Regions from separate parts of the Homo sapiens genome. Here all the other regions are linked to region 1. The links are contacts of gene promoters, found by promoter capture Hi-C in blood cells and fetal thymus (Javierre and others, 2016). All regions are on one chromosome and are shown on one strand. Each heading gives the region's core, a stretch centred on a gene start or on the middle of the fragment in contact. The rest is flanking DNA. Distances are from core to core; before and after follow the strand shown. Region 1 holds the start of LINC02054 (long intergenic non-protein coding RNA 2054). Region 2 overlaps LINC02069 (long intergenic non-protein coding RNA 2069). Region 3 has its middle 9.9 kb from the start of LINC02069.

Region 1 (2,700 bases), core at 46-2,545:
ATGGTGGCACATGCCTGTAATCCCAGCTACTCAGGAGGCTGGGACGGGAGAATAGCTTGAACCTGGGAGGCAGAGGCTGCAGTGAGCTGAGATTGTGCCGTTGCACTCTAGCCTTGGCGACAGAGTGAGACTCCATCTCAAAAAAAAAAATAAATAAATAAAAATAAGTATATGTATTGAAGACAAAATAAAATGAAAAAGTAACAATATAACAATAAATAAATAATGATACAGCATAATAATTTACATAGTTTTACAATGTATTAGGTACTATAAGTAGAGAGGATTTAAAGTATATGGAGGATAGGTGTAGGTTATATGCAAATACTGTGCCATTTTATATCAGAGACTTGAACATCCTTGGATTTTGACATCTTCGGGGATCCTGGAACCAATCCCTCATGGATACTAAGGAATGACTGTACATATAATGGAATATTATTTAGCCTTAAAAAGGAATGAGATTCTGATGCATATTACTACATGAATGAACCTCGAAAATATTATGCTAAGCGAAATAAACTCAACACAAATGACAAATATTGTATGATTCTACTTATATAAGATGTCTAGGATAGAGAATAAGCAAATGTGTAGAGACAGAAAGTAGAATCAAGGTTATAGAGGTTACCAGGGGCTGGAGGAGGTAGGGTGAGAAGTTATTATTTAATGGGTACAGAGTTTCTGTTTGGATCTCGGCTCACTGCAACCTCCGCCTCCCGGGTTCAAGCAATTCTCTGCCTCAGCCTCCCAAGTAGCTGGGATTACAGGCACCCACCACCACACCCAGCTAATTTTTGTATTTTTAGTAGAGACGGAGTTTCACCATCTTGGCCATGCTAGTCTTGAACTCCTGACCTCATGATCCACCCACCTCGGCCTCCCAAAGTGCTGGGATAACAGGCGTGAGCCACCACACCCAGCCTTAAAATGTAAATTTTATGTTATATATATTTTACCAAGAAAGAGAAATTTCACTTAATTCATATCTTGAAAAATATTAAAGAAGACCTATAAACACAGCCCAGAATGTTAGAATCTCTTTGCTCTCATTCCACTCCCCCTCACCCACACATGCCTCTGAAGACTTCTCCTCCACACCTACCCACCCCCTCCAGCCCTACAGCCCTCACCGCTGTACCCCACCTCTCTTCTCTCACTCTTAATCAGGTAGATTGACAGCCTCATTCCCAGCAAGAATGTTTCCTCTCTCGGGTGGGAAAGGAGGGAAGAGGCTGGCTCCAGAAGATTCCCTTTGACAGGCTGCCAAAGGTAGAAAGGCTGTGGTCATGCCCACAGTAATAGTTATTGTCGCATCACATAATAGAAGCCGGAGCACTGAGTCCCCTCCACCTTTTCATGGGCATGGGGAGCATTTCACCCCTCCCTAATGGTTCTCACACCCATTGTCAGATTCAATTACAGTGACGGCATTCAGTGCCAACTATACGCCAAGCATGTACATACGTTTTCTATGGTCCTTGTGACAATCATGCAGGTAACCATCATTAAGACCATGTTGCAGCAAACTGAGGCTCAGGCATGGCAAATGCCTTGCCAAAGTCACACAGCTAACAAGTGTCATTCTCGGTTCATACCACTCTACTAAACTGCTGCCAGTTCAAGGCTGGCCGTATTTCCGGGAAGTCGTCACAAAACTGAGGTGATGGTGGTCAAGAACCAAGTCACTAGCAAAGCACACTTCCCTGCCTCCCTTCTTCTCACAATGTCTACAGAGCCCACATCTACTCAGCTGAGTCTTCTTGGCAACCAAAATGAATACACACATTGCAAACTGTTAAGGTAACCACAGCTATATGGAGAGAGGGCGTCCAGCCTTGTAGCAACTTTGGACTGATCCTCAGGAGCGACCCCTCCTCCCTGGGAGTCACATCTCAGACTCCTTCTGGCTGTTGCCACCTCTTGGAAAATGAACAGGGAGCTGGAGCTGGAGCTGGGAGCTGCTCCCAACTGCAGTTCATTTGGGGTGTCCAAACTCACTTCTCACCAAGGCGCAGTTGTGAAGTATCTGCTTTGCCATCAGCTGGATGGGGCTCAGGCTGTGGAGTTTTAGTGTCACCCCAGCCTCTGGGTCTTCATCCAGATGTGCAAAGAGAACAGCCACCTGGCATCGTTTCTCTTTTCTTTTTTCTTTTTCTTTCTTTCTTTTTTTTTTTTTTTTTGAGAAGGAGTCTTGCCCTGTCACCCCAGAGTGCAGTGGTGCAATCTCAGCTTACTGCAACCTCCACCTCCCGGTTTCAAGCTATTCTCCTGCCTCAACCTCCCAAGTAGCTGGGATTACAGGCACCTGCCACCACGCCCCACTAATTTTTGTATTTTCAGTAGAGACAGGGTCTCGCCATGTTGGCCAGGCTGGTCTCGAACTCCTGACCTCAAGTGATCCACCCACCTCAGCCTCCCAAAGTGCTGGGATTATAGGATTGAGCCACTATGCCTGGCCTAGCATCGTTTCTCTTAAAATTCTGACAATCTATGGCAAAACTTATATGTGCGGTAATAGAGCCAAGCAAGGAAAAGAGATATAAAACTATAAACACAAGGCAAACTCAACAAAACACACAGAAAGAAGAAAAACTCCAAAAAAAACTCTGTATTCTCCACAAAGAATTTTTCCTAGTTTGTTTTGTTGTTTGATTTTTTAACCAAAATTTTTTACTTCAAGGAAACATTTTTATAATT
Region 2 (2,700 bases), core at 27-2,526, 360 kb before region 1:
CTCTAAACCTAGTAAGTGTCTCATCCCTTTCTGACATACAATTGTTTATGTAGCTGTGCTCACTCCTCATACCAACACACACACACGCACACACACACACACGTACAGACACACACACGCACACACATGCCCACAAGTGGTATTGCCGAATCCTGCAGTCTTTGTAGTTTCACAAACATCCAAATCTTGACACCACTGCCACAACACACAGAGAACTGCTTGTGTGGAGACCTGTATGCCAGGTGCTGTGAGACATCCCAGGAGGGAGAAGCTCATTTTCCAATGATGGAATCAAGGAGGGCTTCATGAGAGAGGTGACATTTGTCATGGGCTTTGAAGGCTGCATAGAAATCCAGCAGGCAGAGGGGTGGGAGTGGCTTTCCAAGCCAAGGGAACTGTGGAGTTGGGAAAACACAAAGCATGTCTAGGCAAATCCTCCAGTCTAACTGAAGATAAAGCTTCAAGAGGAGGATGAGAGGGAGGAGCCAAGGGTGGGAAGGTAGTTTGTGACTTGACTGGGTGGGGCCTTGAGTGCCAAGCTGAGGCCAGAAGTAATGAGATTCTACTGACAATTTCTGAGAGGTGGAGGGAGAGCTTTTGGAAGGTCAGTCATGGAGATGATTGAATGAAAAAGATACTGAGGTCAGGCCAGACGCGGTGCCTCATGCCTGTAATCCCAGCACTTTGGGAGGCCAAGGTGGGTGGATCATATGAGGTGAGGAGTTCGAGACCAGCCTGGCCAACATGACAAAACCTTGTCTCTACTAAAAATAGAAAAGGTAACTGAGAGTGGTGGCACACACCTGTAGTCCCAGCTATTCGGGAGGCTGAGCTAGGAGAATCGCTTGAACCCAGGAGGCAGAAGTTCTAGTGAGCCGAGATCACGGTGCTGCACTCCATCCTGGGAGACAGAGCAAGACTCCATCTCAAAAAAAAAAAAAAAAAAAAAAAAAAAGGAAAGATACTGAGGTCAGAAAAACAGTGAGGAGGCCGTGGTAACAGACAGAGCTAGCAAGGACCCCCCTCCTGGAGAGGGGATTGGTAGACCAGGAGAACAGGAGGAGTCTCAGGATAAGAATGTGAGCATCCACCCCTTCCAGATCACCACTACCACGAAAACCTTCAGGGGCAGCTGTGCACATACCCCCAGCTCATCATCTGAGAACGGGTGCCAAGTGAACTCCATCTCCAGAAATTGTTTGGGGAAGTGAAAGAGGAAACCGAACTCAAAATAAGGGTGCCTGACTCACTGTCTCTCAGTGACCATGTGCAGAAAAATCCTCTGAGCCTGCCACCAGCCACCTCCTCTGTCCACACCTTACTTCACAGGAATTCAGACACCAAGAGGGAGTCCCACACACGAAACACCTGGAGACGTGAAGAAACAGACTCAGCCCTACCTCCCTCCTCCCTCGCTGCGAGGTCTTGGGCAATCACTGACATATTTCCGGGCCTCAGTTTTCTCATCTATAAAATGATAATAATAACCAGCACTACCCATTTGTGGGACTTTTATGAGATCAAATAGCCCAATAAACTCGAAAATGCTTAAAGCTCTTTGGAAGAAATGCAAGTGTAATTGTTGAAGTTGTTATGTCATTGGATATTACTATCGCCACTACCGCTATAAACTTGCATATCTCTTTTCTCTGAAGAGGTCAAATGCTGTTCATGGTGTTCTTCTTTCATGAATAATTTCCAAACACCTCCTCTTGTTTACAGGTGGGCCCTACACGAGAAGGTTCCACAGATACTGCCTGCCTAAAGTGGATCTTGAGTCAGATCCTACGAAAGCCAGAAGGAGGGCATGGCTGAGAGTACCTCGGAGAGGCAGAAAAAGGGGAGCTGACTCAACACTGCTCTGTTGGGAAGGTGCGGTGTCCCGGGGAGGGAAAGGCAGGTGACTCAAGGTGAAACTTTCTGGACACAGAGGAGCTGGGATCTCTCATCCAATTCATGCAAATCCTTGGCTGCCTCAACCCAGATCCCACCCCTCCCCATACGAGGCTACCTTCTGGTCTCACTGCCTTGAAATCTAACAGTGCAGCCAACGTGACTCACCAACCATGTGGCTTGCAAACATCACTAAGCTTGTCTCATTTTCCTCATCTGTAAAATGGTTTAATAATCTCTGAGCTGCCTGCCTTCCAGGGCTGATGTGGGGAGGAGGAACCCATGGGCTGAGGATGTAAGAATGCTTTGGTGACTATGAGGTGTTGTATCAAGGTAAAGGGTTGTTGAGGGAATGTTTTAAGATGATTTCTGGGTCAGGCGCGGTGGCTCACACCTGTAATTCCAGAACTTTGGGAGGCCAAGGCAGGTAGATCACCTGAGGTCAGGGGTTCGAGACCAGCCTGGCCAACATGGTGAAACCCTGTCTCTACTAAAAATACAAAAAATTAGCCAGGCGTGGTGGCAGGCACCTATGATCCCAGCTACTCGGCAAGCTGAAGCAGGAGAATTCCTTGAACCCGAGAGGCAGAGGTTGCAGTGAGCCAAGATCGCGCCATTGCAATCCAGCCTGGGCAACAGAGTGAGACTCCGTCTCAAAAAAAAAAAAAAATGACTTCTGGCTTGAGGGTGGTGGTGGTGGTGGCGACTGGAGGCTGCTCTGGAGTGGTTAGGGGAGATGTTGGGGGAATCCCAGGAAGCCAGACCCAAAGTTCCAAAGTAGGGAGAATTCTCTTGAACATAGGTTTA
Region 3 (2,700 bases), core at 177-2,676, 380 kb before region 1:
GGCTAATTTTTGTATTTTTAGTAGAGACGGGGTTTCACCAAGTTGGCCAGGATGGTCTCGATCTCTTGACCTCATGATCCGCCCTCCTTGGCCTCCCAAAGTGCTGGGATTAACAGGCGTCAGCCACCGCGCCCGGCTATTTATTTTTTGAGAAGGAGTCTCACTCTGTCGCCCAGGCTGGAGTGCAGTGGCACGATCTCGGCTCACTGCAACCTCCACCTCCCAGGTTCAAGAGATTCTCCTGCCTCAGACTCCCAAGTAGCTGGGATTACAGGCGCCCACCACTATGTCCAGCTAATTTTTTGTATTTTTTTTTTTTAGTAGGGACAGGGTTTCACCATGTTTGTCAGGCTGGTCTCAAACTCCTGACCTTGTGATCTGCCCACCTCGGCCTCCCAAAGTGCTAGGATTATAGGCATGAGGCACTGTGCCCGGCCTTATTTATTCTTTTCTTTCTTTTCTTTTTCTTTTTTTTTTTTTGAGATGGAGTCTTGTTCTGTCCCCCAGGCTGGAGTGCAGTGGTGCTATCTCGGCTCACCACAACCTCCGCCTCCCAGGTTCAAGTGAGTCTCCTGCCTCAGCCTCCCGAGTAGCTGGGACTATAGGCGCACGCCATCACACCTGGCTAATTTTTGTATTTTTAGTAGAGACAGTGTTTCACCATGTTGGCCAGGCTGGTCTCAAACTCCTGACCTCAGGTGATCCATCTGCCTTGGCCTCCCAGTGTGCTGGGATTACAGGAGTGAGCCACCATACCGGGCCTGTTCTTTTATTTCTATGCCATACACGGCTAGGCTAGGTCCTTACATCTCATGCGGGACTCACAGCCAAAACCTCCTAACTGACCTTCCTGACTGGTCCTCCCCCATCCTCCAGTTTATTCTATATATGACTAATGTTCCTAAAATCCTATTTTCACCCAAACTTTCTTTGGCATGGAAGCCTCCTGCTGGGTCCTGCTCAGGGACACAGATCTGCTTCCTTCGCCCAGCACTTACGCCTCCTTTGATCCGGCACCACCATCTCTCCATCCTCACCTCCTACTCCTCCTTTCCAGACACCCTCCCTTTGAGCAGACCAACCCCGGGCCTCCCTGAACAGCCAGACTTGCTCCCATTGCCTTAGGCTTTGTCTCTGCCCTCCTCTCCGAGGGAAGTCTGCCTCTGCCCTCCCTGTGTCCAGCTCAGCTGAAAATCCCCACTGCCCGTGAACTCCTGACCACACAGGGCTTTCCCTTCCTCCAGCACCTCCTGGCCACTCTGTTCGTTGCGGAGTACCTTTGGAGCTGGGACTCTAGGGTGTCTGCCTGGGAGAAACTTAGAAACAGCAATCTGGTTGGAAGCAGGGCCAGGGACTTGTCTCAAAGCTGTGGTAGAATTCAACTGATTTATCTTATTTTTATTTTTTGAGATGGAGTCTTGCTCTGTCACCCAGGCTGGAGTGCAGTGGTGCCATCTTGGCTCACTGCAACCTCTGCTTCCTGGGTTCAAGCGATTCTCGTGCCTCAGCCTCTAGAGTAGCTGGAATTACAGGCGCCTGCCACCATGCACAGCTAACTTTTGTATTTTTAGTAGAGACGGGGTTTCACTGTCTTGGCCAGGCTGGTGTCGAACTCCTGAACTCAGGTGATCCACCTGCCTTGGCCTCTCAAAGTGCTGGGATTACAGGCGTGAGCCACCACACTCGGCCTTCATCTGATGCTTTACAGTAATTTTTCTAAAGGGGCTTGTACTCACATTTTCCATAAGAGTAAGAAGACATCCCCCGCCCATGTCAAAAACATGATTTTTAGTTGTTTTTTTGAGGGGGGGAGGCGGGGGTGATTCATGAAGATGAGGGGCATAAAACATACCTCTCCAAGCCACTCCTTGGCACTGCCACTGCCCTTGCACTATTCAAGGAAGTGGAACAGACATGCTGAAACAAGTCCTTTGCATATAAAAGCATGATATACAAAGTGCAACTCCCAGGTGTCAGAATTATTTGCAGAGAGGCCAGGCGCGGTGGCTCACACCTGTAATCCCAACACTTTGGGAGGCCAAGGCGAGTGGATCGCTTGAGGTCAGGAGTTCGAGACCAGCCTGGCCAACATGGTGAAACCCTGTCTCTACTAAAAATATAAAAATTAGCTGGGCCTGGTGGCTTGCATCTGTACTCCCAGCTACTTGGGATGCTGAGGCAGGAGAAATGCTTGAACCCAGGAGACAGAGGTTGCCGTGAACTGAGATCATGCCACTGCACTCCAGCCTGGGTGACAGAGCAAGACTCCATCTCAAAAAAAAAAAAAAAGAATTATTTGCAGAGTTATAAGAGTCCAAGTTTTTGACTCATTTATTTGCCTCACATTCTGCCATGTTATTTGATATTCCAGACATCTTAGGAGGTCTCCGCCTGTGCTTTCCCAGTGCAGCAACCCTCTGGGATTAGCGGGCAAGCTCATTAGGAATGTGCAGCCCTCTGCCCCTCCCACTTCTCCAACTGATCCTGTACCAGGTCCTCTAGGGCCTCCTCCGCTGCATTCTCCTCCTCACCTTGAGGTAGAGGTCGCCTGACTTTACAGGGCCACCCTCCCTTCTACTTCCTTTATTCCCACTTGAGACAATCTCAGACCTTATCTTATCCTCTAGATCCTCAAAATCATTTTTCCTTTGTCCATTTTCCAGTTGTGTCTCTTGCCTTAAATCTCTAACAACAAGGTAG

The links. Contacts are between HindIII fragments. The CHiCAGO score rates a contact against its expected background, and 5 or more counts as called.
Region 2: a contact is called between a fragment that was not itself captured here and the fragment with the promoter of LINC02054 in region 1, in 1 of 17 cell types (M2 macrophages). The highest score is 5.3, in M2 macrophages.
Region 3: a fragment that was not itself captured here is called in contact with the fragment with the promoter of LINC02054 in region 1 in 10 of 17 cell types (non-activated CD4 T cells, M0 macrophages, naive CD4 T cells and 7 more); the score reaches 8.8 in non-activated CD4 T cells.

Annotation. Positions count from the first base shown.
Region 1 is chr3:184,400,132-184,402,831 of GRCh38, reverse strand. It overlaps LINC02054 (long intergenic non-protein coding RNA 2054), which reads right to left and starts at 1,295. Exons shown (of 4, transcript NR_161199.1): 1 at 1,147-1,295. The HindIII fragment of the contact is 17,052 bases long and covers 1-2,700 here.
Region 2 is chr3:184,764,492-184,767,191 of GRCh38, reverse strand. LINC02069 (long intergenic non-protein coding RNA 2069) reads left to right here. Exons shown (of 3, transcript NR_110043.1): 2 at 1,723-1,872. Among named protein-coding and RNA genes, the nearest start is that of LINC02069, 7.3 kb to the left of the region's middle. The HindIII fragment of the contact is 1,632 bases long and covers 461-2,092 here.
Region 3 is chr3:184,781,730-184,784,429 of GRCh38, reverse strand. No RefSeq gene overlaps it. Among named protein-coding and RNA genes, the nearest start is that of LINC02069, 9.9 kb to the right of the region's middle. The HindIII fragment of the contact is 4,924 bases long and covers 1-2,700 here.